6 separate regions of the Homo sapiens genome follow, and all the other regions are linked to region 1. The links are contacts of gene promoters, found by promoter capture Hi-C in blood cells and fetal thymus (Javierre and others, 2016). All regions are on one chromosome and are shown on one strand. The core of a region is centred on a gene start or on the middle of the fragment in contact, and the rest is flanking DNA. Distances in the headings are between cores, read along the strand shown.

Region 1 (5,105 bases), core at 784-3,283:
AAATACAGTATCTATTTTTTTCATTACCTGAATTTCCACAACAGTAAAATGAGAATAATGTGAGGTGAGGATTAAACAAGATACAGTAAATGACTGGTGCCCTACTGTAACAAAGTTCATTACAGCAAAGATGAGCATGCCACAGCACCACATTGTGCTATCTGCTGCTACAGTCTGACATGACACACTTAGTCTTAAAGTTACATATTACTCTCTCCCTAACATGAGCATTATATATAAAGAGGTCTCACTGCAGTGGCAAATCCACAAGGCATTCTCATCACCCAAAACATAAAATACAAAAATCTTAATTCTAGATGAACCTAGGACAATCCCTATTTAATAACGTACTTTGGACTAAATAATTCAAACTGTTTTTGAGTGCATGTGTATTGACTCTTGAAGAAGAATGTGTTTAGAGACATTTCTTAAGTTTTAACCTACAGCTCTGTCATAAAGACAAGTGTAAAAGAAACATCAAACCAACACCAAAAATCGATTTTGACTAATCTCCTATCTGGTTCAATTCCTAGCTAGCTTGCTAGTTTGCATGAAGCCTCGCCTGCTTCTAACACTACCTTTAACCAGGAATTTCCTCATCTGTAAAATGAAGGGGTTGGACTTCAGTGAACTCCAAAGGCCCTTCTCGCCCCACAATCATATAATTCTACAGTTAAAGCTTACTGTAGAAAATGACACAGTACTCCAGTGTATCCTAATCTCTTCCAGGACAGTGTTTCTCAAACTAATGCGCATACAAATCACCCTGGGATCTTATTAAAACCCAGATTCTGATTGAACAGGTCTGGCCTGAGTATCTTCTAATTACCTGCCAGGTGGTGCTCATGATGCTGGTCTGTTGATCACACTGTAAGCAGCAAGGATCTAGGATACTTTCCTTAACCTCCCAGTTCCCCCAAAATATGACTGTCCCTGCTTCCATGCATCCTTATATACTTTTAGCATATCACTTTATTGTAACTACTTCTTGATCCACTTGTTTTCCTTTAGACTTTGAACTGGCTCAGGGCATCACTGTATCTCTAGCACCTAAACACAGCGCAATTTCAAACAGCGACCCAAAACTGAATTTCATAACGCAGTGTAGCACAAATCTTTTGCCCAACGTCACACAGATGTAGCGGTAATGCAAGTTTTTAACAACCAGTCCTTTAGACTCCCAGTCCAGTGCTCTTTCTCCTGTACCACAGTGCCTCCCTGAGGCAATCGGTCACTTAACTACTCAGTCTCTGCCTGGACAGCCCAAGAGTGCCCAAGATGTTGTCCACTTGGTTGTCGTGGGACCATGAGCAACCAGAGTCCTCAATCTCACAACTGTGCCTGATCTGCCCCATGCTGGATCTGACATCACTTGTCCTGGATTCCTGGAGACTCCTATTCTGAACCCTCTCCCAGACACCTCCTTCCAACCTTCCTGCAATTTCAGGTGCCACACTCTCTCCAAATTCAAACTCCGAACCTTCCACTGGGAACTCCTGCACTGATTTTCTTAGTCACCCCAAACTGTAAGGTCTCAAAGGACCATTAATCTGACACTCGGTCCGATGGTCCCTTAGAAGTGCGCCCACACACCGCCCCTAGGGTTCCACACCGAAGCGGTCCCCGTGCCCCAGGCACTTACGCTGCGCAGCGGAAAAGGCGGCGTGGGCTAGGGCAAAGAGACCGATGCCCACCAGCCCCTTCCACAGCGACGGCGCCATGATGCCGAAGGAGCAGCAGCCCAGCAAAAGAAGCGAAGGACGGCGGAGCTGTTTCTTCTTCCACCGGCGGGTGTCCGCGCGCCGCAGAAAGATGACGTCACTGAAGTCCTGAGCGCAAAGTGTCTCAGTGGTGGAAAAGCCAGAGGGCTGTGAGAAAACGGAAACAGGAATGCCGGGAAGAAGCAGAAAGCTACACGGAAAAAGGTCCGCGAGAACCCACGAACCTGCGCTATGGAGGCCTCTCTAGGAGGGCCGGAGCCCAACGGAGTCATAAACGAAGAGGCGAAAGCGGGAGCTACGGGGAAGCGAAGAGGAAGGGCGCCGGCAAATGGGGGCAGGGCCAGTGGCGAGAACAGGGTGGGGCAGAGGGACGGGGGCCTGCGTAGAGAACGTGTGGGGGCGAGGGGCGGGGTAGGCAGACGGGCGGGGTGGGGAAGACGCGCGGGGCCCGCACGAGGGTGGGTGTAGCCGAGGGGCGGGGCCAGTGGGTGGGTGGGTGGGCGTAGCCGGGGGGGGGGGGCCCTGGTGGGTGCGGTCGAGTGGCGGGGCCTGCGGGGAGGATGGGTGGGGCCGAGGGGCGGGGAGGAGGTGGGGCCGAGGGGCGGGGAGGAGGTGGGGCCGAGGGGCGGGGAGGAGGTGGGGCCGAGGGCGGGGCCTACGGGAGGATGGGTGGGGCGTAGGGGGCGGGGCGGAGGGGACGGAGAGTGGGTGAGGGCCGAGGGGGCGGGGAGGAGGTGGGACCGAGGGGCGGGGAGGAGGTGGGACCGAGGGGGCGCGGAGGAGTGGGACCGAGGGGGCGGGGAGGAGGTGGGGCCGAGGGGCGGGAGGAGGTGGGGCCGAGGGGCGGGGCTGGGGGCGTTGGGGAAAGGCGGTAGGTGCTGGATATAGACCCCTGACAGTTGTGTTTTGTGGGTTGGTTGGTTTTGGCTTTTTGTGAAACTGTGCCTTTTGTTTTCTGTAGGCCTTTCCTGTGCTTCAGCTCCCTGGAAACTGGCACTGCAGAAGGAGGCAAGGGTGTTAAAACGAGGAGGCAGTGTCAGGACAAAATCCCAGGATCTGGAACCCCAAATACTTGGCTCGCGGGAAGTGCTCAGTAAACCATTTTAAGGTCCTGGAGAAAGATTCGCGCAAAAAGAGGTGTAGCGCGGGGGGAGTGTTTTGTCGTGAAAAGAACCAGCTTACATTAAGGAAGAAATGAAAGAGGAAATTTTAAAATGCTAATAACGCAGCCTTCTTGCCTTGTCTCTATCTCTGATCCGGGTAAAATGTATACTCCTCTGCCCATTTTTCTTTGTCTTCATCTCCTGAAATGTAGACATTTAATAGTGAGCTTCTCCCCTTGACCTCATCACTCTGCTGTCCCCTGGGGAGCTCACCCATTCATTCCCACCGCTTCAGCCAGCAAAGGTATTACAGTGATTCCAAATCGACATCTCTATCACAAATATCTCTCCTTAGCTCCAGGGCTGCATTTCTGACTACCAGATAGGCATTTATTTCCTGTGGCACTTAAAACGTAATATGGCTAAAATGGAATTCATCCTTTTTTTCCAAATTCTGCACCAGTTCCTCCAGTGACCCCTGACTGAGTGGCAAAGCTTTGTAAACTGCATATCACAAGGTAAATGCAAAGTATGATCACCATTCTTTTCCTTTAACCCAATCAGAATTCTACGTTTTAGTTGCATCAATTTGCTTTTGCTCAAAGATGCGTCCTATCCTGACCACCCCTTTTAAATGTGCAAAATTCCTATTCCTGATCCCCTTATTCTGTTCTACTTTTTATATCACCTTCTAACATACTATATAATTTAACTATTTATGTTTGTTGTGTTACTGTTTACTGTCTGTCTTTCCCCACTGGAATGTAAGCTCTGAGAGAACAGAGATTTCTCTGTACCTAAAACTTTGACTGTCATGTGATAAGCATTCAATAAGTGCTTGTTGAATGACAAATGAATTCCGGAAAATAATTGGGACAGTATCCCTATTTGAAAGGATCTCTACAGAGAGTCCTTCCAATCTTTTGAATTGGGCTCAAAAATCCCCATGGACTTGCATGTACTCTCACATTTTGACAACCTTTTGATTGTAAACATTTTCTGATATGCTTGAGCTTCCTCAAAGCTGGAAAAACAAATAAGACATCTCATTAGCTGGGCATAGTAGCACATGCTTGTAGTCCTAGCTACTTGGGAAGCTAAAGAAGGAGGATTGCTTGATCCCAGGAGTTCAAGGCTACAGTGAGCCATGATTATGCCACTGCACTACAGGCTGAGTGACAGAGCGAGACCCTTTCTCTAACCAAAAAAAAAAAAAAAAAAAAGTAGAAGAAGACATCTAAAATTAATCATATTTCCTCAACTTTACTTATATAATTTTTGTCCTGGATCTCATTTTCCAAACCTTTAGTCATGTTCATTATTCTTTTCTGGGCCCTTTCCAATTTCTTCACCTCTAAGCCAGAATTTTACACAATACTTGATGGATGTCAAGTGCAGTATAATGCATTCCTTACAAATGTAGTTCTATTTATACAATCAGGAAGAACCAGGAGATAATCTCTCTGTAGTTGACAGGAAAGTGCTTCCTTCTCCGCCCCTGGGAGGTAATAAGGTAGAAAAGATAGTTGACCAAAAAAATCTTACAACTTTGTTTTGTCTAAAATAATGGTCAGATTGAAATTAGCCTTTTCAGATCCCCTGTAAAATTACCCCTTCTTCCAGACCAGCCTGGCCAACATGGTGAAACCCCATCTCTACTAAAAATACAAAAAATTTGCCGGGCGTGGTGGTGGGCCCCTGTAATTCCAGCTACTCAGGAGGCTGAGGCAGGAGAATCGCTTGAACCCAGGAGGCGGAGGTTGCAGTGAGCCGAGATCACGCCATTGCACTCCAGCCTGGGCAACAAGAGTGAAACTCCATTTCCAAAAAAAAAAAAGAAAAAAGAAAAAAACCCTTTTAATATCAATTTATCTGAAGCAGAAAATGATTAGGAGTTTTCTTATAGGACCTGAGATCTGGTTCTTTTCCTTTAAAAAGATGAAGTTATAGGAAAAAAGAAATTCAATAATGAATCTGGTATTTGTATAAACCACCAATGCATTATCCTAGTCTTCAGGGAGATCACCCATGTCCAGATATTGAGTTTTGTTTTCTCTATTGCCCTCTTAAGATGCATTTCTCACTCTTTTTTTACCTCTTTACCCATATACTGAATGCAAGAGAAACTAGCCTCGTTTCACATTTTCTAGTAATACATGGTTAAATTATGTTCAGGGAGTGAGATTTTAATTGTCTTTTCTGTAGATTCCAACCTGAAGGGAAGCCAAGGTATTCATAGTCACAGTTACCAAGGACTGTATCATTCAAATAAGTACCTTGG
Region 2 (5,105 bases), core at 1,067-3,566, 810 kb after region 1:
AGTAGCTGGGACTACAGGCACAAGCCACCACGCCTGCCTAATTTTTGTATTTTTTGTAGAGTCACCATTTCACCATACTGTCCAGGCTGGTCTCGAACTCCTGGGCTATAGCAATCCTTCTGCCTTGGCCTAGGATTAAAGGCATGAGCCATCATGCCCGGCCTTATTTGATTCTTAAAGCAATCCCATGAGTTGGCTATTAGCATGTCCGTTTTACAGATAAAAATACTGAAGCACAGAGAAGTTAAGCAACTTGATGCTCGTGTGGAAGTATCACCTCCCTTTCAGTAACACTTCCTATACACACTGTAGGGATCCATATAATATAAAATAATGCCACAAAATTTACTATACAATTTCTACCTCAAAGCCAAGTTCTCTCAGCTTTTCAAGGCCTCTGTTCTAAAGTGTTAATGGGAAGGAGTAACAATGGCCTTTCCTCTTTTCTCAACTTGGGAGGATTACAGTGACCCTCTCCAACAGTCAGTGGCCCACTTTTGGTTCCCCTTAGTAGGAGAACACACCCACACAAGCTCTGTCACTGGAAGCCTGTTTACAGGGCTTGGATGCTGTATATAAAAGGCATTATTGTGTGAGTTTTTATTTTGTTTTGTTTTGCTTGGAACTGGTTTCTGGAAAAGACAGACTAGCAATCCATTACTGGGGACCACCAGTCTGCTACCTCTGTTTAACTCAGTGGCCAATGACAGTGAAAATAAACAAGTACTCTTACTACCAATCTTGATTAGCAGAGCAAAAAAACGATGACAACAGGGAAGGCACCCGGGGTAGGCTTACTTCCACTTGGAGGGTTGCACATCCTTTCAGGAAGTCATTGATGTTGTTGATGCAGTCAGCTTCAGTTTGGGGATCCAGACAAAACTAGAGGAACACAGTGAAATGTCACTTGGAGATTGTCATCCCATGCCAAGCAAAGTATACTCATCATTTGCTGATAACTAGAGAAAGCAGGCCTCTTAAGGTGTGGGGCAACACTGCTGTCAATCCAGGAAGAGAAATAACCACTGAAGGAAGTGATGCAAAAATCTAAACGGTCGATCTTTGTTTCAAATGTCACCAAACCTTTAGTGGCAAGCCATGTCTACTTACAAGCTTTCTCTCATGCCTTCTGTTCCAGTGTGCTGATGGCAAATTAGGGAGACCAAGACAGTTTTTTGAGCTTAGTTCTTGCTTTCAAGAAAGGAAGCAATCCCTGGTACCTCTCTCTCCTCCTTCCCCCTGATAATTTAATAAAATTCTATTTCCCCTCTACATTTGACCACACTTCTTTACATTTTATCACTATTTAATCACTCTTTCTCAAGTTTAAGAAATTATAAGTAAATTTATTTGCTCAATAAAAATACAAACTGGCTCATGAAGGCAAAAGTGCTATGCTCACAGTCCATGATGACCTTAAGAAAGTAAATGTAAAATTGTACCTTTAAGCTTACTTAAAGTGCCTACTTTAGAAATTATCTATTCTCGTGATCGTGGATTTCCAGCTATTAAAAATCTTGAATTGTTTTAAAGAGAGTAAAGTTAGTTTCACTTTGAACGCACATTGCATTCGAAACATATATCTGGTTTCTATTGCTTTTACAAACTTTATGTGACATTTTGAATTATTTTTTTCCTAGTTGCTATATAGTCTCTCCTTCAATGGATTTTTCTAAAAGGAAATCTACACTGATTTTAATCAAACTGCCAATAAACACCACCAAGATCTGTTATAAATCATTCTATTTTTCCACAGACTCATAAGTACCCCAAGTTCAAAACATGTCCTCGGTACACAAGGAGATGTAACATGCATCTCCATGATAGAGCAAGCTTGTGATATGAGTGTTCTCCTTGTCCCTTGTTGCCAGTGGTGTCACAGGTTTTCCCTATACTACAATTTGGGGGCCAATTACTAAAGAATAACGTTTCATTTTCTTACATTTTCAAACTACAAAAACAGTAAGAAAGAATGTCTAACTCTTAGAAAAATATTAAAGTAGGAGATTCCCATGGCCTGGGAAATAGAAAAATCTCAAGAGTTACATGATTGCTGCTCTCTGGTGATAAGCAATCCCAAAGAGACTGCAAATTTCCCTTACCTTTTCCACAGAGCCAGGCATGAGTCTGTTGATCAGTTTGCACAGAACTACCCCATTTTTCAGCGAGGACTTTAAAAACTCCTCCGGATCACAGATGGTCTTTTTAGGGGACTCTAAAACTCCCAAAGATATAAGCCATGTCACGATTTGTTCTTCTGGATTCATTACTGAGGACGGTACACTCCAAACAGCACTCTGGGGCAGCTGCAAGGACTAAGCCACATCCGCGATTGCATCTGCTGTTGTCTTCCTTTTTATGAGTTCTCTTCGGGTGCTTGCAGAGCAAAGGTTTAAAGCAACTTTTCTTAAACAACAGCGGAACCCACTCAAAATATGGGATTTTAAAACCACAGAGATCACGGTCCAAGATGTGGAAACAGATAAGAATTAATTTAACAATCCTGGATAACGCTGGTTTTTCCTTTTCAAAACCTGCAAAACAAATTCGTTAGGATAAAAAAAAAGAAGAAACGCACATGCACACACGCATACACACACACGCACACAGAGTGCAAGAAGTTATAAGGGAAGAAAGTGAAAAGGATGCTGGGGAGGGAGGAGAGACAAGCAAGCAAGTGCTTTGGGAAACAGAGGTGAGCCAGCACTTCAGGGGACCTTGGAAATGAGACACTCATGGGCCAGTCTGGGAAAACACTGTCAATAAATAGTCTAGCCCCAGTGAAAATCTGGCTTCTGTTAGGAGGACGATGCCAACTGGCTCTTAGGTCAGACAGATCTGAGCCTCATGGGGAGATGTGCTGGCACAACAGGGCTCAAAGAAGGTAGACAGAAAATTCTTCCAAGAAATAGCCGGATGTCCTCATAGTATCTCCCAGAGATGGTGTGTCACGATCATTCCTTGCAAAACACGTTGAGTTGCATGGTGACAACGTGCCAAGCAAACGAAGATTATGCCTGCTGTCAGCCATCACTGTGTATAAGCAGAAGCTAGAAGAATGGCATTTTACTTTGCAGCCAAAAAGCTATGTTTAGGGAAATAGGCTAAGGATAACATCTGACATCCTGTTTACTTGCATTCTTTAGCAATTCTTTTTCTGGACCTGGTTCCACTACATAATCCAGCTGCAGTACCCTTAGCAAAGGCTCAGACTCAGTCACATAAGTGGGTAAAATACACTTGAAAAAATAGAATGTTTGAGAACAAAAGAGCACTTGTCCTCTGTCTACACTACAATATGGAAGATTCTTATTTTCCCAACAACAACAACAACAAAAAAACACTTTGCACTTAAAATACTGCTCTGAAAAAAAAACTGTCTATAACAAGAGATCTTCATCATTCTCAAACATTTTCAGAACCACTTGAAATAGGCATACTATTGGGAAATTTATGATAAGGCCAACTTTAATAGTATAACCCTATGTTGGCAAATGTGTGGCACTTACCATGATTACCTCTCCTCGTGCATGGGAGACATCAGATCATGTATAGCTCTTTCCTACTAAGCCTCAGAATTCTTTTCAACACAGCTTCAGGCATCTACTACCAAAGAATCAGCTTAGATAACCCTACTAAACATTTTCAAAGCTGCCCTTTCTTGCTCTGTCAGGACACTTGTCACACTTTACTATTATCACTTGTTGATCTGATGATCTGACTCCTCCACAAGAATGTAAACTTCCTAAACTCGGGGTCTTGTTTTTTTTTATTTAACACTGTGTTACCAGCAGACTGCCAGGTATACACAGTAGATGTTAAAAAATGCTGAATGAATAAATGAATGTATTCAGATGGTGTCCCTGATATAGACAGTAACTGATTATAGCAAGGATTTTTTGTTTGTTGGTTGGTTTAAATGGCTTAAAACAAACATTTTTTCTTGTTAATGATTTTTACCATTTTATTAAGCTGTAATTGACACATAAGGAACTGCATATATATGATTTAATGAATTTTGACATATACATACATCTTTGATACAATCACACAAATGCAATCCAGATAAGCCTTTCCATCACCCCCAAAATTGTCCTCGTGCCCTTTCAATTCTTTCTTTCCTCTTTGCCTCCAAATGCCAGGCAACCACCAATCTATTTTCAGTGTCTATAGATTAGTTTGCATTTTCAAGAATCTTATATAAATGGAAGTACACAGTATGGTACTATCTTTTTTCTGGCTTCTTAACTCAACATCATCATTTTCATACTCATTCATGTTATTGTGTCTGTCCATAGTTCTATAACAAGGTTTGCTTGATGTACTTGTGACTTAAGCAAAATAAGTATAATCAATCAAAAGTTTTCATTGACGTTGACCCATGGCCAAATCTATGTAATGGAAATAAAAACAGAATACATTTGTTGATAAATAAAATTCCCAAATCTGACGAACTTAAACACATTTTTATATGTCATCTGAACAGTTTTCACAACTGCTCATCAAAATTTTACTCTACAGACAAACAAAATCTGGCAGTATTATTGAGGTATCACTTACATCTTCTGATGAAGAACAAAGCCTGAGTAAGTTTTGTGAACCCAGCCTCCTCCAAAACAGTCTTGAGTTCACCAAGGTCATCTGGATAAAACTCTGCCTCATTTTGGACACTCACTATAGCAAATATTACTATGAGTAATAAAGTATATCAGAATGGCAAGGCCACTGCCTCAAGGCAAAAGAACCAGTTCTATTTGTATAAAGATTGGAAGTTACAGTTGGTGTGGTAAAATGTCAACAAAGCAAGGAATTCCAGGGCAGTGGCAAGCATATAGGTGAAATGGGTACCCATGAAACCCAGGCTGGTTAGGGACTCAAATGAAGCTAGAAAGGAGCTGATGAACTGAGGGAATAGGGGAAGAGGGGGAATTCAAAGACTGGGGGTCACAGCAACACAAAGAGCAGGCTTCACACAAGAGCATGAGAAAAAAAAGCAAAGATCTCTCACCCTACCTCAGATCCTCAGTACCACACCCTCTGGGCCACTGAACCTGCCTCTTCAAGGGCTTTCCACCTCCATCCTCTCATCCTAATGAACTCTCTAA
Region 3 (5,105 bases), core at 384-2,883, 700 kb after region 1:
GACGGAGTCTTACACTCTTGCCCAGGCTGGAGTGCAGTGGCGCGATCTCGGCTCACTGCAAGCTCCGCCTCCCGGGTTCACGCCATTCTCCTGCCTCAGCCTCCCGAGTTGTTGGGACTACAGGCACCCGCCACCACACCCGGCTAATTTTTTTTGTATTTTTTTTAGTAGAGACGAGGTTTCACCATGTTAGCCAGGATGGTCTCGATCTCCTGACCTTGTGATCTGCCCGCCTCAGCCTCCCAAAGTGCTGGGATTACAGGCATGAGCCACCGTGCCCGGCCAACCCCACCCAATTTTCTAACCAGTCAGCATAGTCACTCATTTTCCCTTCTCCCTTCTCCTCTACTCCAAACTCATTCTTGCAATGGCTGGATGGCAGCACCCTGTGAACACGCCAGTGTGCATAACCAGGTGTGGGGTGGGGGGTGGGGCATGCCAAAGCTGAAGTGGAGCAAATATTTATCCAAACTATATTCCCAGCTGATACACACAATTCTGTCACCTCTTTGTGAGACATCACTTACTCCTTCACATGTGTCCCAAAGTACCTTGTGTCCCAAAGTACCTTGTTCACAGCCTTATAGCCAAATATGTCCATATCGACTGGCTGACTGACTTTGCAGTCTGTCTCCAAATGAAACTATGTTTCTAGATGTGGGCAGGCTGATTCCCTGAGTAACTGAGAGCATCACTGAGCATGGGACTTCTGGAAGGACTTCAGCCTTCGGGTCTATTTAGTCTATCTCCCTGCAGAAAAATATCTCAAGTATCAGAAACTAAGAGGGAAAAAATGTATCCATAGGAAATGGGTCCCTTTAGAGGTTCTAAACCAGGTGAGGCAAAATACTCAACACAAAAATGATACAGATGACATCTGCCTAAGATGACATGAAGTGCAGCCGTAAGAAGCTTATTCAAATGTTTAAGAAGTGACCAAAGCTTTCCATGCATTCTTCTTTATATGTAAAAGACGATGTCAAGAAAAAATTGCTCCAATCATCTGCTTTCAAATAAATCCTCACATAAAAGAAGATTCTCATGTTAATTTATCCATAAACAACTTTCAGAAAGTACAAAACACATACTTTTCCTAATCACATATTCCTCCTCCGATGGTTTTCTCTCAGTCTTCCTTTTATGAAGAAATTTCTTCATCGTTTTAGGGCTTTTACTAGACTCCTGTGAGGACAGAGGTTTCTTAATGAATTAAAATTCTCCCTCAAAAACAAAAGTAAAAGCATGAATGAAACTAAGTAGAATTCCTCTCTCTTATTTTGACAGTCTCAGTTAGGAGTACATCAATGTTTAATTCTATGCACAATTAAAATGGTTCCAATAAACTCTAAAAGGTTAAATAAAACAGAGGCAATGACATTATCCTCTCAACTTGCACAGAGGTGGGACTAAGAGTGGAGTGTGCCTACTGAAGATGTGGCAGATTCTCCAGGAGGCCAAATGGCTTTAGGGAACCATCTGCAGAGAAAGTAAGGGATGTCAACCCTAAAAACGTAACAGTATTCCTAATTTGGTTTACGTTCCCCACTGATACAGTTTTAGGGGAACTAAATAACCACTGTAACCACTAATGTAGTAATGATCACTTTTCAAAGAGCTTCAAAGCTATTTAAATAATTCTGCCTTAGAAACAGTCCCACAAATAAGAATATAATTTCCATTTGTGAGACAGAAAAATTAAGGCAGAGAGACTAAGCCATTTTTCCGCAGTCAAAGAGAAGAACCAAATGAAGGATTTCCTAAAAAATAATTTTGGGTTAGAAGTAACACACCCACAGCCAAACTTAACTATCCATATATAAAGCCATGTATTTAACTAGTAGACAAAATAAATGTATTGAATTTGTTTTTGCCATATGAGTAACCAGCAGGTCAAAAAAATACTCATTGTCAATATCCTTAATCCTTAATCCAATAATCTGTAAACAGATTACAACCTTAGACTTAGGAAAAAACTCTCATGATCACCTAATCCCAATTTTCCAAGAAATGTGTATACATGGAGCATGGATATTAATTATTAATAGTACCTTAAAAATATAGGAAACAAATCATTTAATTTATTTCACTTAGCCACAGTACTTACACTTGAAAACAAGACAGATATGAAAAACTCTCACATGACAAAAATAACAGGAAAAAACAGAATTTAAAAAAAAACACAGGAAAATGGGCATTTTAGGGCATTATGACATTTTTATATGTATTTCACACAAGCCTGCTTTTTGAACAAAGTACTTACATGTCAAAATTGCATCTTCATATTTTAGCCACCAATTATAACAAGGGACAAAACAAGCATAAGGGAAAGCTTCATTCATCAAAGGTTACAGTACAGCATTATGATGTCACTGTAAGCCAAAGATATTGTACTACCCTTACCTTTAAGATATAAGACATCCTCTAAAATGAATATGTAAAGAAAGAGAAGATGAGCGTGAGAGGTCGATGGTTATAATGACCAAATCCACTTATCAATAATTCTAAAACAACATTTGAAATGTTAGTGTTATCATAAATTACACAGAGGGAATATAATCACATTTCCCACATTAGTTTCAGATGCAATATTATCATGCAAAAGCCCGAGGAATACAGTTCTGTGCAGAATAACAAATGCTGAAAACAACTGAAATACATACTATCTAGTAGGAATATATTAATAACTCTCTTCCCCCAGCAGAAACAAAGTGATCATGCCTTAGTTTTAATAGATTAGTTTTGTGAAGGATTAAGTCAACTTTACTCTTCAAAGCTCACCCTTAATTTGAACTTAGTAACTGATAATTACAAAATATCCATCATTAAAAAGGGGGCCTAGGTAACTATCAAGTGGCACTCCTGGTTTACATAATCAAAGAAGAAAATTGGATGATTGCAAGAATTGCACGTAAATTTCCAAAGCAAATCTGTGGGACTGCTTCCTGACCAAATTCTAAATAGAGTTATATAACAAAGATTCAGTTCGAGGGTTGTTTGTCCTATCATGTCAAGTTGAAAGGATCAAAAAATCCTCCAGTGTCCAAATATTGTCCTATTTTTACTGCACTTAGAGTTGGTAGCAACAATTAATCGAAACAAAAGCATGGTGGTTTCAATCAAAACACTCAAAATTGAGCTAAGTCTGCATCACTCATCAAAACACACGTTTGATATAGAAATATAAGCCACCTTTGCCCCATAATTCTAAGACTCATCTCATAACTGTCACAAACTTAATCTTCACTCAACAAGACCAATTTAAAGAACAGTTACTAATAAATGAGCATCATTTCTGAAATCTGAAATGATTTGAGACAGGTTAGGGATAAAGCCACTGTTTGGATGGAAAAGTAATACTCCACACAGTTACAGAAGCTAGTGAGTGACACTTCCTGACTGCAACTTTGAGAGAAAAAAAAAATACACAAAACCTTTAAATCCCCACACTACCCAAATATCAAATGGCCTTTAAGGTTGTCTCTGAGAAGCCTCTTTTTAAAAGACACTGCTTTCATCAAATTCTTTTCTCATTCCAATTGCAGCAAATATCACTTTTATAGTTTGGACTCATAGCTTGGTCCCATAACACTTTACTAATTTGGTTCAAATTGATCAAAATGATCCCAAATGCTGAATTAAGTCTGCTTCATTGGCAACTCAACTACAATGAAGTGGCTCTTGTTTGAGATTTGTGTACATTATTAACAAATCTAAAGGATTATCATAATAATCATTAAGGTAAACCAGAGGCACTTCAGGAGGAGACTGGGAACACTCAGGCAGTGCACATAGATCCTGTAGATATTCAGTACATATTTGCAGATGGACAATGGGAAATGGAAAATTAAGAAATCAAACAAATCACTGAGTCTGGCAATTCAAGACTGACTCACATAATACCATCTATCTTAAATTCTAGCACATTCCCACAGAACTATTTGTAATAAGCTACGAAATTAACTTGTCAGAAGCATTTTATACCATAGGTAGCAAAATTACCTCTTTATAACCTAGTGCTGCTGATGGTCTAAGTGGAGGTGCAGGTCGTAGACAACTTAAACTCCACGGTTTTATAATTTGAGGAGGCTCCAAGGGTCCTCGGGGCTGTCCGGTAGAGCTAAAAGACTGGGAAAATGTCTGATGAGATGTTGGCAATCTGCCATCTGAACCCGACCTTGTGCCACACAGTGAGAGAACAACAATAGCTTCATTGGATTAGCAAAGACAGCCATAGAAAGGGATAGATGGAAAAACAAAAGTCTCTAGTTTGAGAACTGGTTCTTTCCAGTCCAGATTATCGGGTCTCTAAGAAACAGCACAAAATTGACTCAACATTCCATGATCCTGTCCTCTCTTTCTCATCTGGAATTTAATTAATTTAATTTTCTTTCCTCTGTAAGGAAGGAAAATGGAGTAGCAGTCAACATTTGAGTTCAGTGATATGTTTGGCACTCTAGTAGGTGCTTAAATAGGTTATTTCATGAGAACAGCCTAAGACATAGACTCAGTCAAGGGAAGCAACTAACTAGTAATTGGCAAAGCCAAGATTTGAACCCAGATCTGAAGCCAAAGTCCATATTCTTCCAACCACAACACACAGTCCTCAAAACTGGAATTTTGGCATCATAGGTTTGTATGTTAACAAACAACACAGCATATCTTCCATCTCACTCAGCAAGTACAGTAAAATCTCATCAATTCAAATTCCAATGTCTAAATTTGTGATAACTCAGAAGGAGATAATGCTAAAAGTTTACCTTTGAAGAAGGTTACTGAGCAAATGTGAGAGCATGAGTGAGATGACATGGAGATGTTTAAGTACTTAGGGAGGTAAACTATTTGTTTCGACTTAGCCCACTGTTAGTAGGAGAATAACCATTGCTCATGGAAATAAGCCTTGCTTATCATTAAAATATTTTAGCAGGACTTCTGGTTAGAAATACTTTGCTAGCAGTTAGTTGGGGTATCTGAATACTGTCAAACAGAACTGCACACTCTAAGTAAACCTTTTCATTAATTTGGATGGGCCTCATAATGAGAAATCAGAATGAGTGAGGTTTAACTGTACTTCAAAATCTACAAATATAGGCTGCCCAAAAGACTAA
Region 4 (5,105 bases), core at 1,611-4,110, 620 kb before region 1:
TCAAGTACTACGAACAGTGTTGCTCCTCGTCATGTGATTTTCCAAAATGGCATACGACTCTAGGTAAATCTGAACAATAAGCAGTGTAGTCTTTGCTTTTCACATTAGTGCATTCCTAGAAAATTTCATTTGTGCTGAAACTATGCAAAACAAAACAAACAATTGTACTTATTTGACCAACAAGGTGGGGTTCTTGACAGGTTCTTTTTACTCACATGAATGTTTGAGTGGGACATTCCACACTTGGTAGGGACCTAGAACAATTCTGCATTGTAAATTATGTTCCATTAAATTCTGATAGCCACCACCTGTCAGCATATCCAAAACTCCCCATGGGGACAGTGGCACTGTCTGCCATTCAGAATGACTGTGTAAAGCCTCTTTTCAGAAGTGCCGTGACTGAGAGAGGGCAGTATCTTTGGGAAAAGGGAGCAGGAGCTTCCAGATGGGCATCAGGGATACTCCAGTCTTGTCTATGGGGGTTCTCTGCAGGAGCTGTTAGCTTCAGGGCTCCTGAACAGGAGTCTTCTGAAGTTTTCTGTCTCCCTAGGGTACTTGGGTTGGTGGTTGCCCTTCCTTTCTCTGTCTCCTTGGTTTTGTTTACTATATAAGATTTTATCTTCATGTGGTCTAGACATTTGCTGCTGAATACAGTCACTACTAGTCATGTACAGCTCTTGAGCCCTTGAAATATGGCCAATACAAATTGAGATCTGCTGTAAGTATGAAATACACACCACATGCAGAAGACTTGGTATGAAAAAAGTAGGTGAAATATCTCACTAATAATTGTTCATATTGATTACATGTTGAAATCCTGATTGTTTGCACTGGATTAAGTAACACGTACTATTAAGATTGGCCTTACTTTTTAAAAAATTTATTCATATGGCCACTAGAAAATTTAAAATTACATGCATGATTCTCATACAATTCTACTGGGCACTGTTGGTCTAGACTTGAGAGTGATGGTTCTGGCATTTCCCCCAGGTTGATATGCATGACATGCTCTTGGAAGAACTGGCACCAGTGGGAACGGCACACATACCACCAACCATGCACCTAGAGTCACCTGCACTCCAGGTAATGGGACCTGCCCAGGAGGCCCCAGTAGCAGAGGCATGGATCCCACAGGCAGGGCCACCGGAGCTGAACTATGGTGCTACTGGAGAATGTCAGAACTTTCTGGACCCTGGTAAGGCAAGGGTTTCTCTCCTTTCTTTTGTTTCTGTTTTGAGAGTTCAGGAACTCTCAAGGGTTGGGGTTGGGTTAGAAACACCAATTACTCAATGGAAATTGACCACTCAGATAAAGAAGAGGAAAAAGTCTCTCTGGGAATAGTAGGGAACAAAGCACTTTGGATAGAACCCTGGGATTAGGAACCCTTTAAGCTAATGACCCTGATAAGGAGTCTTTTGATCAAGAATGTTACACAGGAAAACTATGGGAGTTTGGATTCTGGATAAGGACTCATTTCTCAGCCCAATTTTAATCAACAGGAACTGTGATGTGGTGGGCCCCAAGGGCCTCGGTTGCTTTTATGGCATCAGAGCCTTATTCAAACTTAATACTTTAGTAATATAGTCTATTTAGATCCTGTAAGATCAACCACTTACTGCAGTCTAAAGGAAATATCTACCTCATTAAATCAAAACCTATTACAGTGTTTTTCAAACTGTAGTAAGCAGACCATTTGCAGCATGAACACCACAGGTGCATGTTTAGCAAGCTCTGCAGGTGAGTGCTACACACACTAAAGTTTGAGAATCACTGGCCCAGACACCACAGGGATTAGTTCTAGAAGGAGAAAGTCCAAGTGGAGAAAGGCAGCACGATCACATAGTCCAGTTGCTCCTATATTTTATTCCCCTTTGGGGTTTTCTATTTTTTTTTTTTTTTTTTCTGAGACGGGAGTCCTGCTCTGTCGCCCAGGCTGGAGTGCAGTGGCGCAATCTCGGCGCACTGTAACCTCCACCTCCCAGGTTCAAGTGATTCTCCTGCCTCAGCCTCTCAAGTAGCTGGGATCACAGGCATGCACTACCACACGTAGAGACGGGGTTTCACCATGTTGGCCAGGCAGGTCTTTAACTCCTGACCTCAGGTGATCCGCCTGCCTTGGCCTCTCAAAGTGCTGGGATTACAGGCGTGAGCCATTACACCCGGCTTCTCCTTTGGGGTTTTCTTACCCAGTGTTCCCTGTACCTCTTCTACCCCTCACATTAAAGCTTTGGCCCGAGTGTGGCCAGAATCCTCTCCCCGACTCCCCCAGGTACTGTTTCAACATGTTCGCACGTTCAAGAGACTGTTAAATACTGAGACCACAGAAGACACATAAAAAATGAAAATAAGAACTGTCCAAGTTATAAAATATAAATGTCTGATCCATCCATAACTAGCTCAGTACCCAGGATTAGGAACCATGCCCCTTTCCACATCATATTAATATCATTTATTCATTTGTACACTATCTACGAGCACCTTTGAGGAGCCAGACACCATGCCAGACCCTGGGGATTCAGTAGCACACAAGGTTGGAAAGCAGCTCTGGTCATCTTGGAGATTACAGTTCAGTGGACAATTCAGATATGTTAGTAGGACGTTTTGTCCTGTATGTAACAGAAATCTGACAGTAAATGGTATGTTGGGAGGAATAGGATGCCCAGGAGCATGGAGGAGGGCCACCTAACCAGCTTTTGGCTGAGAGGGAAGTCTGGAGGAAGGAGGATCTGGGTTAAAACCTACAGGATGGATCAAAGTGAGCCTGTGGAGTGGTGTACATGGGAAGCGGAGAGGGCTGGGATCAAAAGCAACAACATGTGCAACGTTCTGAAGGCAGAGAGAAGACCTCCTGCTGCAGTGCAAGGGACATAGAAGAGCAGTGGGGCAGGAGTGGCAATAGAAGAGGCTGGAGAGAGAAGCAGGGTCCTGGGTCACGAAGAACTTGCAGCCTCATGGAGAAGTCACACTTGATTATCAGGGAAGTGGGGAACCATTTTGAGGTTCTCCAGTACCAGAATGATACACACAAATTTGCATTTTAGGAGATTATTCTGGCTATAGTAGGAATGGATACATACTACTGAAAGCAGGGACCCCATTTGGGAGGTTGTTGCCATCATTCAGGTGAGAAGATGTTGTTCTAGAGCAAGGGCATGTTGGTGATGATGGAGTGAAAATGTAATTCAAAAGATACTTAGCAGGTGTGAAATATAGAGCTTGGTGATTGGGTGTCAGGGTGATGGAGAAGAAGGGAGTAAGGATGGAATCCAGGTTTCTGGCCATTGAACTGGGTAGATGGTAATGTTATTCACTGACATGACAAACAAAAGAGGAAGATCAGATTCGGTGGGTCAAGTTGAGTTTAGATTTGAACATACAGAGTTTGAGGTGCTTATGGGTCTCCAGCATATTTTTAAATAAAAGTGACAAAAGAGGAAAACTTTACAAGTATGCATATTGTGGTCAAAGCAGAACTATATATTGCCATTTATGTTCCAAGCTTTACATCATCTACATTTCATAGTCTATTGAGGAATTCTAAAAAAAAAAAAAAAAAAAAAAAAAAACAAAACCGGGTTTATGTGTATATGCCTGGAACAAGTAGTAAAACTTAGCTAGTAATATTTTGAAGTATAACTCTTTCTGCATTTGCATTCTGATTCTCCATGTTAATTCGCTCCTTTTGTCAACACTGCAGGTACAAATACCACATAGTAGCAATATTTATCTGGTGTTAATATTTTGCTCTCTAAAGCACATGGAAATCTAGTATATTTAACAAAGGATAGGTAGAATTAATTAATTTAACAGATAAAAATTACAAATTGGAGGACAGGAAATTATCCTTTTCTTATCACCGTTTAAAGTGATATATTATGCTTTGAAAAATGTTGCAAGGCTTATTTTATTATTTAAAGGTTACTTAAACTTTTACTTTAAACAAAAGTATATTTGATGTATTACATGAAATACATTCTATTGTGGACTGAATGGAAAGCACAAGATGCCAGCTGAGTGGAAAAGAAATTCAAAAGTAATGGAAGAAGTCAATTGATTTTATATTAATGTTTGGAACCTATTTCCTATGAGCAAAAAATTAGGTTGTTGAGTATATATGAATTGTGCATATATATTTTTTCATGTAATATAACTGAAAACACATATACACATTCATTGCAAAATAAAAGAGAACTTAAGTGAACAATATAAAGTGACCTAAGGAAGACATAAACTTTAAAACAAAATCCCTTATTTGAATTCATGCTGGACACTTTGATGCCAGAGATAGGCAATAATATTAGAATGTATGCAATCAGAAAGAAAAGAGGCAAGGAGACGCTAGTCTTAAAAACATAAAATATATCATGCTTATCTTTGAAAATATGGAGTTCAAAATTCGTACACCAAAACTGGATTGCATTTTGAGTTGTCAAAGCTTTGGGTTTTTCATTTCAATTGATGAGGTTTCATTTGGAATGTGTGTGAAATGTAAAAGATCACATCTTTTTGGTGATGAAGAATATGAGAGATGAAAATTTAAAGTAAAATACAGGACAAACAAATGCTGTCTAGAAAGCATCAGAAGATTCTTATAACTTAAACTTCTTCAGATTATTCTACTATACCAAAAAATTTACCATAAGCTAATATCTAACCCCCAACTATAGTAATGACATTTCTTGGTGTAGTGAAGCTCTTACGAGACAGTCTTTGCTAATGGGGTTTAATGAAGCCATTCCCTGAGTTTAGGATGGGGGGAACATTCAATGAAGCACCTTCTTTGTTAATCTCCAATTGCTTTTCCCTCTTTGCATGGGATAGCTATTGAAGGGCAATTAATTATCCCCGAAACTTAGCAGCTTAAAGGAAAAAGTATTTATCATGTTACTATTTTTGAGAGGAATTCAGGAGTGATCTACTAGATGTTTATGGCTCAGAGTCTCTCTTGTAGTTGTTGTGAAGATGTCATCAGGGACTGGCAGGATGCCTCAATTCCTTGCCAAAGGAATTTCTCCATAGGTTACCTAAGTATCTTTATGATGGGGCAGCAGGCTTCCCCCAGAGCAAAGGATCCAAGAGAAAGCAAGGAGGATGACACAATGTCT
Region 5 (5,105 bases), core at 1,629-4,128, 610 kb after region 1:
GGTGCCACAGAAATTGGACCTCAACCAGAGAAGTTGGCTCTTGACTAGAAAACACTGAAGATGAAATAAATTCGGACCTAACATGAAGTGGATAGCTTAGCAGACCCTTCCTGTAAAATTCGAAAACTCCTGCCCAAGAGAAGAGGGACCACTGCCTGCGCTTGAATAAAGGACTCAAGTATAGGCAAATCGAAGCACCTTCCTTCCCTGAGCCCATTCCAATGCTCATCTGATCTCTGGAGCTTTCATGTTGTACACCTCTCCACCCTATCTTAACCTTGAATCCCAGGTACACTCTGCCTGCTCTGACAACTCTCTACCTACCTACCTGCCTACCTGACTCTCATACCTTAGCTCCACTTTGATCACCTGGTAGCAATGGATTGTCCAACTACACCAAGTGTCAAGCCTACAGGCTCTCAGGAACCCATCTCTGAGAAAGGCATCAGCTTCCCAGCCAACTGCCTGCCCAATGTCCGGCCCCAGACTTGGCCCCTTGATGAGGTATTCTCCTTACATATATCTCAATACTAAAATGACTTACCAACACTGCTATAGACTAAATGTTTGTGTCCCTCCAAATTCACATGTTAAAACGTAATCTCCAATGTGATGGTATTTAGGATGTGGGGCATTTGGGAGGTGAATAGGTCATGAAGGTGAAGGCCTCATAAATGGAATTAGTGCTCTTATAAAAGAGGCCCCAGAGAGCTCATTTGACTCTTCTGTCATGTGAGAACACAGAGAACACCACCATGTATGAACTGGAAAGTGGGCCCTCACTAGACACTGAATCTGTTGGCATATTGATCTTGAGCTTCCTAGGCTTCAAAACTGGAAGAAATAAATTTCTGTTGTTTATAAGCCACCCAGTCTATAGAATTCTGTTATAGCAGTCCAAATGGACTAAGATGAACACTAACACTAATTGCCCATATTGCATGCCAGCTGTAAGAGAAAGCACCATTTGAGGAAACACAAAACTAAACACACATTAGAGTCCTTTTTACAACTCTGCTTTGTTGCTGTTTAATTCATGGTTCTCAACCTTGACTGCACATTGAAATACTGTGTGTTTCGAATGTTTCGAAAATACTGACAGCTATAAGTAGGTAAATCAATCAATCGAATTACCTAATTTTGAAAGTAAATAAATAAAAATACCAATTTGGGGTCTCACACCCAAATATTCTGATTTAATTAGTTCAGACGGCAGCCCAGACAGCAAAAGTTTTATAAGCTCTCCAGGTGATTCTAATATGCAGGCAGGATTGAGACCCACTTGCCCAAAAGCTACAGTCATGTGCCCCATAACGATGTTTTGCTCAATCACAGGACCACATGTACAGTGGTGGTCCTATAAGATTACAATGGAATTAAAAATTTCCTATTGCCTAGTGGCATTGTAGTCATAGTAACGTTGCAGCCCTAACACCATAATGCAATGCAATGCATTACTCATGTTTGTGACACTAGTGTTAACAAGCTATTGCTCTGCCAGTCATATAAAAGACTAGCAATACAACTATGTATAGAACATATACTTGATAATGACAATAAACAACTATGTTACTGGTTTAGATATTTACTATACCATACCTTTTATCATTATTTTCAAGCGGACTCCTTCTACTTATTAAAAAAAACAGTTAAGTGTAAAACAAGCTCAGGCAGGTCCTTCAGGAAGTATTCCAGAAGAAAAAATTGTTAGCGTAGGAGATGACAGCTTCGTGAATGTTACTGTCCCTAAAGACCTTCCAGAGGGGAACAAGATGTGGAGATGGAAGACCATGATACTGATGATCCTGACCCTGTGTAGGCCTAGGCTAATGTGTGTGTTTGGTCTTAGAGTCTAACAAAAAAGTCTCAAAACTGCGCTTGCTTTGGCAGCCCATGTACTAAAACTGGAGTGATACAGAGAATAGTAACATGGCTCCTGTGCAAGAATGACACACAAATTGTGATGCGTTCCATTAAAAAAAACTAAAAATAAGTAAAAATAATAAAAAGTAAAAGTTTTAAAGTAGATAAGCTTAGAGAATAAGGATATACATGATGAAAATATTTTTGTACAGCTGTACAATTTGTGTTTAAGTGTTATTACAAAACAGTAAAACAGGTAAAAAAATTTAAGGTTTATAAAGTGAAAAAATTATAGTAAGCTAAGGTTAATTAGTTATTGAAGAAAGAAAAAAATTATGTATTTTTTGAGATGGAGTCTTGCTCTGTCACCCAAACTGGAGTGCAATGATGCAATCATGGCTCATTGTAGCCTTGAACTCCTGGTCTCAAGTGGTCCTCCCACCTCAGCCTCTCAAGTTGCTGGGACTACAGGTGTGTGCCTCCACACACAGCTAATTTTTAAATTTTTTGTAGAGATGATGTATTGCCATGTTGCCCAAGCTGGTCTGAAACTCCTGAACTTAAGCGATCCATCCACCTCAGCCTCCCAAAGTGTTGGGATTACAGGAGTGAGCCACCATGTCCAGCCAAGAAAAAATATTTTTTATAAATGTAGTGTAGCCTAAGTGTACAGTGTTTGTAAAGTCTACAGTAGCATGGAGTGATGTCCTAGACCTTCACATTTACTCACCACCCACTCACTGACTCAACCAGAGCAACTTCTACTATTGCAAGCTCCATTCGTGGTAAGCGCCTTATACAGGTGTATAATTTTTTAAATCTTTTATACTGTATTTTTACTGTGCCTTTTCTATATTTAGATATGTTCGATACATAAATACTTACCATTGTGTTCCCATTGCCTACAGTATTCAACATAGCAACATGCTGTTCAGGTTCGTAGCCTAGGAGCAATAGGCCACACCATATAGCCTGGGTGTGTAGTAGGCTATACCACCTATGTTTGTGTAAGTGCACTCTGTGCTGTTCACACAACAAAATCACCTAATGACACATTTTTCAGAATGTACCCTCATCATTATGCAACACATGACTGTGCTTCTTAGACTCCAAACATACTTCCCCTGACTTGGTTCTAGGGAGTCAACATTGTCAATGTTACAACTTCGTCTTAGAATGGTTTAGTGCTCCCCCCCACCTTCTTCTTATACCCAGGATCATAAAGGCTTCTTCAAGGGCATTTTGTTGGGCACGGAGCTGACCACCTCCATGTGTTTCCTTCCCTTCAGGCCTTACAGAGCTTATTCTCATTATTCCACCTCTATTTGCAACGGAGCCTGAAACCTATCCTTATTTGCAGTTTGCCATTTAAAAATCATCCCTTCTGGCTTTACTTTTTGCCCTGTTCTTTCTGTGTCCAAACTGAAAGTCCGAAGTGAGAGAAACTCATGCTACAGAGTAACTCGCTGGGGTTTGGTGTCAAATCTTAAAACGCCCACTTTCCAATCAAGGGTGACTAAATTATGAAGTAGCACTGCCCCCACCCCCTCCTTTTTAGCTCTTCACAATGCTTGCTATCACCTATTTTATAATTAGCAGTAGATTAGCATGAAAAAGATCTTCCTTCCTGAATTAGGCACTGCAAATATATTTTCTAACTTTTGACCTAAATTGCAGTCTGATTTAAAGTTTTGTTTGTTTGTTTACCAGTTTTCTAGAGAAATAAGAAAAAAAAATAAAGTTTTGTTTGTTTGCTTGCTTGCTTGCTTTTTTTATTCACTCAACAAATCCTTAGCACATTTTGAACAAAGCAGCTTGAAAGCAGAGTTAGGCTATTTCTGTACACAAATAGAAGAGCAACTAAGCTTGTGTTTTCACCAGTGGTCTTTTGCAGAAGATAAGGGTCAATAGCTATGAGGGACCAAGGCTCAAGTTTCACTTAAGGGAAACTGGATTCACTTCTCCAAGTGATACTGAAAGCTTGTATTCCAGGGTTAAGATTTACCAAATCAGGGACTCTCTTGTTTTCAGGGATAGTGCAGATTCTACATATCGGGTTTTTAGGGTGCACATGATGAATAGTTTGGAAACGTTTCTGCACCAGTTTATCACTGGCAAGACAGAGGTACCACTTGCAGTCCTCTTCCTGAGAAGGTTCCTCCCACAAGGCATCCCACTTCCTTTTCAAATTTTACTTATTTTGCTCATCAGCAATAAAATGAAAATGTGTCTTTCGCTCTCTATAATCATCTCCCCAACTCAGCAACTTAAGGTGCCTCTGTCACTTTGATTTATTCAAATGATTTGAAATGTCAACTTATTGAAGATCTGTAGAGGACCATGGGTAATGTCACCCACTGCCCTGAAAAGCCAACGAATTTTAACTCTCTGAACGGATGTCAGACAAGGGCAAAGCTGAGCCCATGGAATCACTTTTTGCCATGCTTCTCAATGGAGCAATTCAAGGTGACTTCGTCATGCCCATTGAGGAAGCCACATCTGCCAGTTTGTATGGCATCATATTGGCAAAAAGGAAAAATGGTCACTGAGAGGAGACTTTTCCCCACAAGTATGATTTCTTAGAGAGCCATGGCATTATTTTGGTGCTTAATGAAGTGAAACCTTTTTATCCCAGCTACAGTCCGGCCTTACTGGATTGGCAACAGCCCCAGCAAACTGACAATTTAAATGAGGGTGCCACTGCTTGAGGACTTTATGTGAGGCCTCATTAATTAGTCTATGAGGATGGTCTAACACGGTGCTTGGCACAGAGGTAGATAGCACTCGTGGCATATTAACCATTGCTATGATTATGAAAAGTTCATTTCTAGAGAGTTCCACCAGTAGTTAAGAGGTAGGCTTAGGGATTTGACCTCTAACACACTGTGACTATTCCTGTCATTCTATCCTGCTGGTGGCTGGCCTGGTGCTCTAGGGTAGTCAAAACCATTTTAAGAAACCGCAGAGAAATGTTAAATTCTCCTGTTGTGCTGGAATTCAGTGAATGCCAATGGATCTTAAAATAATTGGGTCAGTGTCTGAGGCTTAGAAAGGCAAGAATTCTCTTTTGCCACATGGGATTTTGTGTGAATTTGGCATTAATATCAGACCTGTGCTATCTTGGCTTGCTTCTTTAGGAAGTAAGCTGGTGCTAACCCCTCAAGGAAAGGATAAAACACTTAGCAGAGCCTTGTTTGTTTCTCAGTAGGGAGTGGCACACTAGCTTAACATGTAGGAAGTTG
Region 6 (5,105 bases), core at 815-3,314, 520 kb after region 1:
ACCCTGGGCAGCCTTTGGGCCAGGATGGCTGGGTGACATGGGACATAAGCATAAGGAACCCTTTAAGTCACCTGCTCAAAAGACGGTTGTGGTAGAGCCGGCACTCAATGATATGTGCAGTAGGGTGGTGTCGCATATTATCACCTATGCTGTGAACTCGGGAATGAAATGGGAGCCCAATAACACATTGCTGAAAACAGCTGTATGCTATTTTTGGATCCAGGAAAAAATATTTAGCAAAGTTTAAGCCTAATAAAACTCACATTACCTATATCATAAAAGTGCACACAAATTCAGTTCTCCAAGAGTTCCTGCCAGAATGAGAACTTCATGAAAAAGAAATGTAATTTAAAAAAAAACTAACCCAAACTATTAAAAACTGTTGTTATCGTTGAAACCATAGATTCACACAACTGGTGTGTGGGGAGCCAGGATTTTCTAGAAGTAGTACTCAACTGCTATGTTTAGAAGTGAAGGTCACTGGAATAGTGAAATAATTTCTTCTGGTAAGGTTTTCCCGGACCTCAAGCCCGGGTTATGATATTTATGTTTACACTAATGGGTTCCTTATTATTTTAATGAATTAGTATTTTTTAACAGCCGCTTTCATTTTTGTGCAGAAATATTGGTAAGTATAAACCACAAACAAACGTTTTTTGGGGTTTTCAATGTTTTAGTGTAAAGAGGACCTGGAACCAAAAAGTTTGAGAACTGCTGTCCTCCAGCATCTCATATCTGTCAGGTGCCAACCATCTTAATTCTGTCTCCCCTGAGCTGTGCCTGTCTTGTCAACTCCTGGGTCGCCAGAGCCTCACGCAGTGCCCTGCACTTAGTAGGGGCTCAATAAATACCTGCCCAACTTAAAAATATGGACCTTTTCCTTTTCAGCAATGAGTGTAATTCCTGAAAACAAAGTTCTGTTTAGAACAAAAAGTATGCTGTGTCTTTCTAAAAGAATGACAAAGAAGCGGAGTTTCCCGGCCAATAAAGCTGGTGTTTACACTGGGATGTTTACATTTATGCTTAAGTTTCAAGTTCGAAGCTCGAGCGCCACTGAAATCTGCAGTACAAGAGGCAGGCAACTGCTGCCCTTTCCATCCTTCCCACGGAGTCGAACTCCAGCCAGAGGAAGGTATGAGACCGATAAAGGAGAAGGCTGACACCAGAAAAAGAAAGTTGGCCCTTCTACCCCTCATTCGTTCATTCATTCGCTCATTCCGCATTAGACACCAGAGCCGGTGCCAGGAGTTTAGGCTACCAAGATGAACAAGATCCGGTGTCTATCCCCGGGTGTCGTAAAGAAACAAGTAAAAGACGCGGTTCCTGAGCGGGGGAGGGGCCTTTGGGCGAAGGAGGCGCGTCGTTTTCTCGAAGCCAGAGAAATTTGTCCTGTCCGCCCCACCCACTCCCCTAAGATGGCGCCCTCGCGAAACCCGCCCGGCCACCCCCGCGAGGGAATATTCCCACGCCTTCCTTCCGTTTCCCTCCCGGGCCGGCCGATCCGCCGGGGACCCCGCGGAGCTCAAGGCCCTTGAGGCGCCGCGGGATCCCAGTGGCCCTCGCCCCGCCCCAAACCCGACCCCGGTGGGCGTCGACGCGCAGCAGCAGCGGGTCCCCCCAACCCCGGCGCCCCGCCTCCCCGGGCCTCGCGCCGCATGCCGGCGTCGGCGCTTTTTGACGCCATAGTGGGCGTGTCGGCGCGACCCGCGACGTCGCCACGCGCCGACAATGGCGGCTGCGTCGGCCTGAGCAGGGCTTAGTTTAGAAGTAATTTCCTGACGTTGCCGAGGGAGCCGCAGTCGCCTCAGATCCGGTCGGCGGCGGCGGCGGTGGCGGCGGCGGCAGCGCGCCTGCGCGCTCCCGCAGCGCCCTGGACCTAGCGGCGGTGCCGAGGCCCGGCGGAGCAAGCCAGGTGGGCGGCGGCGCGGCCGAGCTCACAGCATCAGCGCGCGCGCGCGGTGGGCGGGCAGAGAGGGGGGCGGTGCAGCCGCCGAGCGGCCGCGATTTCCCGGGGACTGCTGGGGCGCAGCGGGGAGGCGGGCCGGGGGGCGGCGGGGCGCGAGCAGAGCGCGGTTGACCTCCCTTTCTCTGCTCAGCTCCAGCGTCATTTCGGCCTCTTAGTTCTTCTGAACCCTGCTCCTGAGCTAGGTAGGAAACATGAGCGGCACCAACTTGGATGGGAACGATGAGTTTGATGAGCAGTTGCGAATGCAAGAATTGTACGGAGACGGCAAGGATGGTGACACCCAGACCGATGCCGGCGGAGAACCCGATTCTCTCGGGCAGCAGCCGACGGACACTCCCTACGAGTGGGACCTGGACAAAAAGGCTTGGTTCCCCAAGGTAGGAGAGTGCCACGGGCGCCACTGCAGAGCGGGCCGCCTGGCCAGCCTCGCGGGGCACTCCTTTTACGTTTGCTTTGCTGAGATCCTTGGTCCTTGGTCCTAGCCCCCTTGAATAGCGACGCTTCTTTTTGTTGTGTTTGTTGGGGCACCGATGTGTAAAAGAACGTAAATCTTTAGGGTAGTGTCTTAAATGTAATTTTTAAGTCTTTTCTATGCTTTATTAATCTTGTCTGTGAAGGTCACAGTTGATTATTACATGACTGCTTTTTATTGCAAAGAGGAAAAATACCAAGAACAAATTTAGTAGCTGTCCATTTCTGGTAGCCAACCCCACTTGTCCTAGGAACTCAGATGTTTAGCTTATGTACTATGTGCAAAATGCAGTTTCTTGATTTCTTTTTTAAAGTAGCTGTTTATATAGCTTTACTAATTGAACTTTCTTTGCACCTTGCTTTACTTTCCTAGTAAATTTTGTCCCTAGGCATATATGTTTGAACCATATAACCACAGGAATAAGACTGGAGATACACAGAATACAGATGGAAAATCTGTGTATGTTTGTTTGGAATACTTGGAAATTGCTAAGTATTTTTATTTCAGCTTCGAAGTAAAATAACTAATGTTAAACTTGATTCTGTAAACTTTGTGGTAAAAGTGCCCTTTTAATCTGGCTCTCATGAGCAGGAAAGGGCACACTAATAGCACACAAATTGACTTGCAAGTCAATGATACAAAACCTGTCTCCACTGCGCGACTGGACTGCTATTGTAAAAATTCTTTTGCAACTTTTCTTTCCCATTCTGTATTTGTATATATATTCCAATCCCTCCAGATTGTTAAAATTTACGATTTCACTTCTGTGTTGGTAGTGCTAGTTTGAGTGCAGATTTGGTTTCTTCAGCATTCTGAATACTTTTAACAAAGGTGTGATAATGGATTAATGTGTGACTTTATCCTTTTATGTTGTTGAAGCCCATACCTCTTCAAACTTTGGGTTTTACATTTTCCCCATTCCATGCCTGCCTAATATTGATTGGTATGATGATATAACTATATTTCTTTCGTTTTGCAATAACGCTTTTCCCCCAAAGGGGAGGAAGATAGATATGAGTTGGATTTGTCTTTAATTTGTTCTGATACTAAAATATAACGTCATTTAATTTGTGATAAAGTTAAAATGAGCATTTAGTTTTACAATTGTTAACCCCATTCTTTATATACCAAATCAGAGTTCTGTTCTGTGTGCTCTCTGCATACAGATATTTAAGTACTTATTGTACATGTATATTGGTGCATCTGTACAGTAAGAGAAAATTGGATTCTGTGGTTAGATTATTCATTGACTGTTGGTTTTTATTGTTTTATTATCTGGTTCTTCCTTTGTTGTATGTATTTGTAGCCTTAGTCAAGTAGTGTAGAGAGGTAGTAATTAATAAATGAAACAACTAGAAAAGGTGCCAGCATCACTTAAAATGCTTTAAATCGTATCTCAGACTTTTGCATTGATCATCTAAGTACTTGTGTCTTATTTTTTATCACCGTATGCACAATTTTCTATAGAAGGTGACTATTCTTGCATTTATACCTTAATAACTACAACTATTATCCACAGAAACACTTTTGTGTTAAGTTGTATAACTATGCTGTAAAAACACAATTTAAACTTCTTATGAGTGGAAATAATTTTGAATTTCTCTGTCCGGGTCTGTTGAATTGCTTGTGTAGATTACTGAAGATTTCATTGCTACATATCAGGCCAATTATGGCTTCTCTAACGATGGCGCATCTAGTTCTACCGCAAATGTTGAAGATGTCCATGCTAGGACTGCAGAGGAACCTCCACAAGAAAAAGCCCCGGAACCCACTGATGCCAGAAAGAAGGGAGAAAAAAGAAAGGCTGAGTCAGGTAAGTGGTTCTAGCTTACAAATTTTAAGTGTAAAAATTAAAAATATGGGTGTGCATAGGTACAGTTGCTTTTTCGAGAATTATAATAGCTTTGAAGGAATAAGGTGAGTTTTTTCTTTAAGGTAGTGTCAGTTATAAAGAATCAAGATAAACTGGCCATCTTTTTTCCAGATAGGGCTCTAAAACTAATTATTTCTCAAAAGATTTAAATCTTTTGAAAGCTGGGTAGTGATTTGAGTTAGTTTATCTTGGTCTTTTAAGAGTAACAGAAAGGTCGTCCTGGAAGTTTCAAGAAACTGCTGCTTTGTCAAGATTCCATAATATGACTCTTATCTTTTTTTGCAAGTGTTTTATTTATTTAATTAATTTTGATTTCTAGGATGGTTTCATGTTGAAGAAGACAGAAATACAAATGTATACGTGTCTGGTATGTATAACTTTTTAAACAGGTTTAAGGTAGGAAATACTTAATTTTGAGATTTTTCACGAAGTGATTTTTAGCTTTCAGTTTCTCCAGAGTCCATTTTTTATCATTGTGTCATTTTTTGTTCAGCCATTTATATTAGTAAGGAATATGTGTGTTCATTACAGAACCAAGAAATTTAGTGTGTAACTTTGCATACCAACCTTTAGGCCTGGTTAATGTAACTTACAGCAGTGTGTCCCTTCCCATTCAGTGAGGCCCTCAAGAAAGCATAATTTTAATGTATATTTGAACACACAAAAATGTGAAATTTCTTCAGTTCCGTAAATGTAAAACTTTTACATACATTTAGAAAATCAACATTGCATTCACCTAAGTTATAGATTTCTAATTGGTAGAATGCTAAGTAATTCACCTTCATTATCAATTA

What was found. The method cuts DNA at HindIII sites, captures the fragments that hold promoters and counts their contacts. A CHiCAGO score of 5 or more calls a contact.
Region 2: the fragment with the promoter of ARHGEF6 here is called in contact with the fragment with the promoter of MMGT1 in region 1 in 5 of 17 cell types (fetal thymus, total CD4 T cells, M2 macrophages and 2 more); the score reaches 10.9 in fetal thymus.
Region 3: a fragment that was not itself captured here is called in contact with the fragment with the promoter of MMGT1 in region 1 in 1 of 17 cell types (naive CD4 T cells); the score reaches 5.1 in naive CD4 T cells.
Region 4: a contact is called between a fragment that was not itself captured here and the fragment with the promoter of MMGT1 in region 1, in 1 of 17 cell types (neutrophils). The highest score is 5.4, in neutrophils.
Region 5: a fragment that was not itself captured here is called in contact with the fragment with the promoter of MMGT1 in region 1 in 1 of 17 cell types (non-activated CD4 T cells); the score reaches 5.6 in non-activated CD4 T cells.
Region 6: a contact is called between the fragment with the promoter of HTATSF1 here and the fragment with the promoter of MMGT1 in region 1, in 12 of 17 cell types (total B cells, monocytes, naive B cells and 9 more). The highest score is 16.2, in total B cells.

What each region holds. Positions count from the first base shown.
Region 1 is chrX:135,971,955-135,977,059 of GRCh38, forward strand. MMGT1 (membrane magnesium transporter 1) reads right to left here and starts at 2,034. Exons shown (of 4, transcript NM_173470.3): 1 at 1,643-2,034. The coding sequence starts at 1,721. It also overlaps a transcript of SLC9A6 not described here. RefSeq lists an enhancer at 1,583-2,112 and a silencer at 2,123-2,232. The HindIII fragment of the contact is 2,640 bases long and covers 678-3,317 here.
Region 2 is chrX:136,778,616-136,783,720 of GRCh38, forward strand. ARHGEF6 (Rac/Cdc42 guanine nucleotide exchange factor 6) reads right to left here and starts at 2,317. Exons shown (of 22, transcript NM_004840.3): 1 at 2,103-2,317; 2 at 799-882. The coding sequence starts at 2,267. RefSeq lists an enhancer at 753-972. The HindIII fragment of the contact is 10,728 bases long and covers 1,832-5,105 here.
Region 3 is chrX:136,675,536-136,680,640 of GRCh38, forward strand. ARHGEF6 (Rac/Cdc42 guanine nucleotide exchange factor 6) reads right to left here. Exons shown (of 22, transcript NM_004840.3): 16 at 4,000-4,125; 17 at 2,401-2,421; 18 at 1,089-1,182. Among named protein-coding and RNA genes, the nearest start is that of CD40LG, 30 kb to the left of the region's middle. The HindIII fragment of the contact is 1,387 bases long and covers 941-2,327 here.
Region 4 is chrX:135,348,120-135,353,224 of GRCh38, forward strand. ZNF449 (zinc finger protein 449) reads left to right here. Exons shown (of 5, transcript NM_152695.6): 3 at 991-1,195. Among named protein-coding and RNA genes, the nearest start is that of ZNF449, 5.9 kb to the left of the region's middle. The HindIII fragment of the contact is 1,274 bases long and covers 2,224-3,497 here.
Region 5 is chrX:136,581,366-136,586,470 of GRCh38, forward strand. It overlaps the pseudogene RNU6-320P. Among named protein-coding and RNA genes, the nearest start is that of MIR934, 33 kb to the left of the region's middle. RefSeq lists an enhancer at 5,038-5,105. The HindIII fragment of the contact is 1,696 bases long and covers 2,031-3,726 here.
Region 6 is chrX:136,495,528-136,500,632 of GRCh38, forward strand. It overlaps HTATSF1 (HIV-1 Tat specific factor 1), which reads left to right and starts at 2,065. Exons shown (of 9, transcript NM_014500.5): 1 at 2,065-2,343; 2 at 4,071-4,251; 3 at 4,631-4,678. The coding sequence starts at 2,158. RefSeq lists a silencer at 1,406-2,075. The HindIII fragment of the contact is 10,358 bases long and covers 1-5,105 here.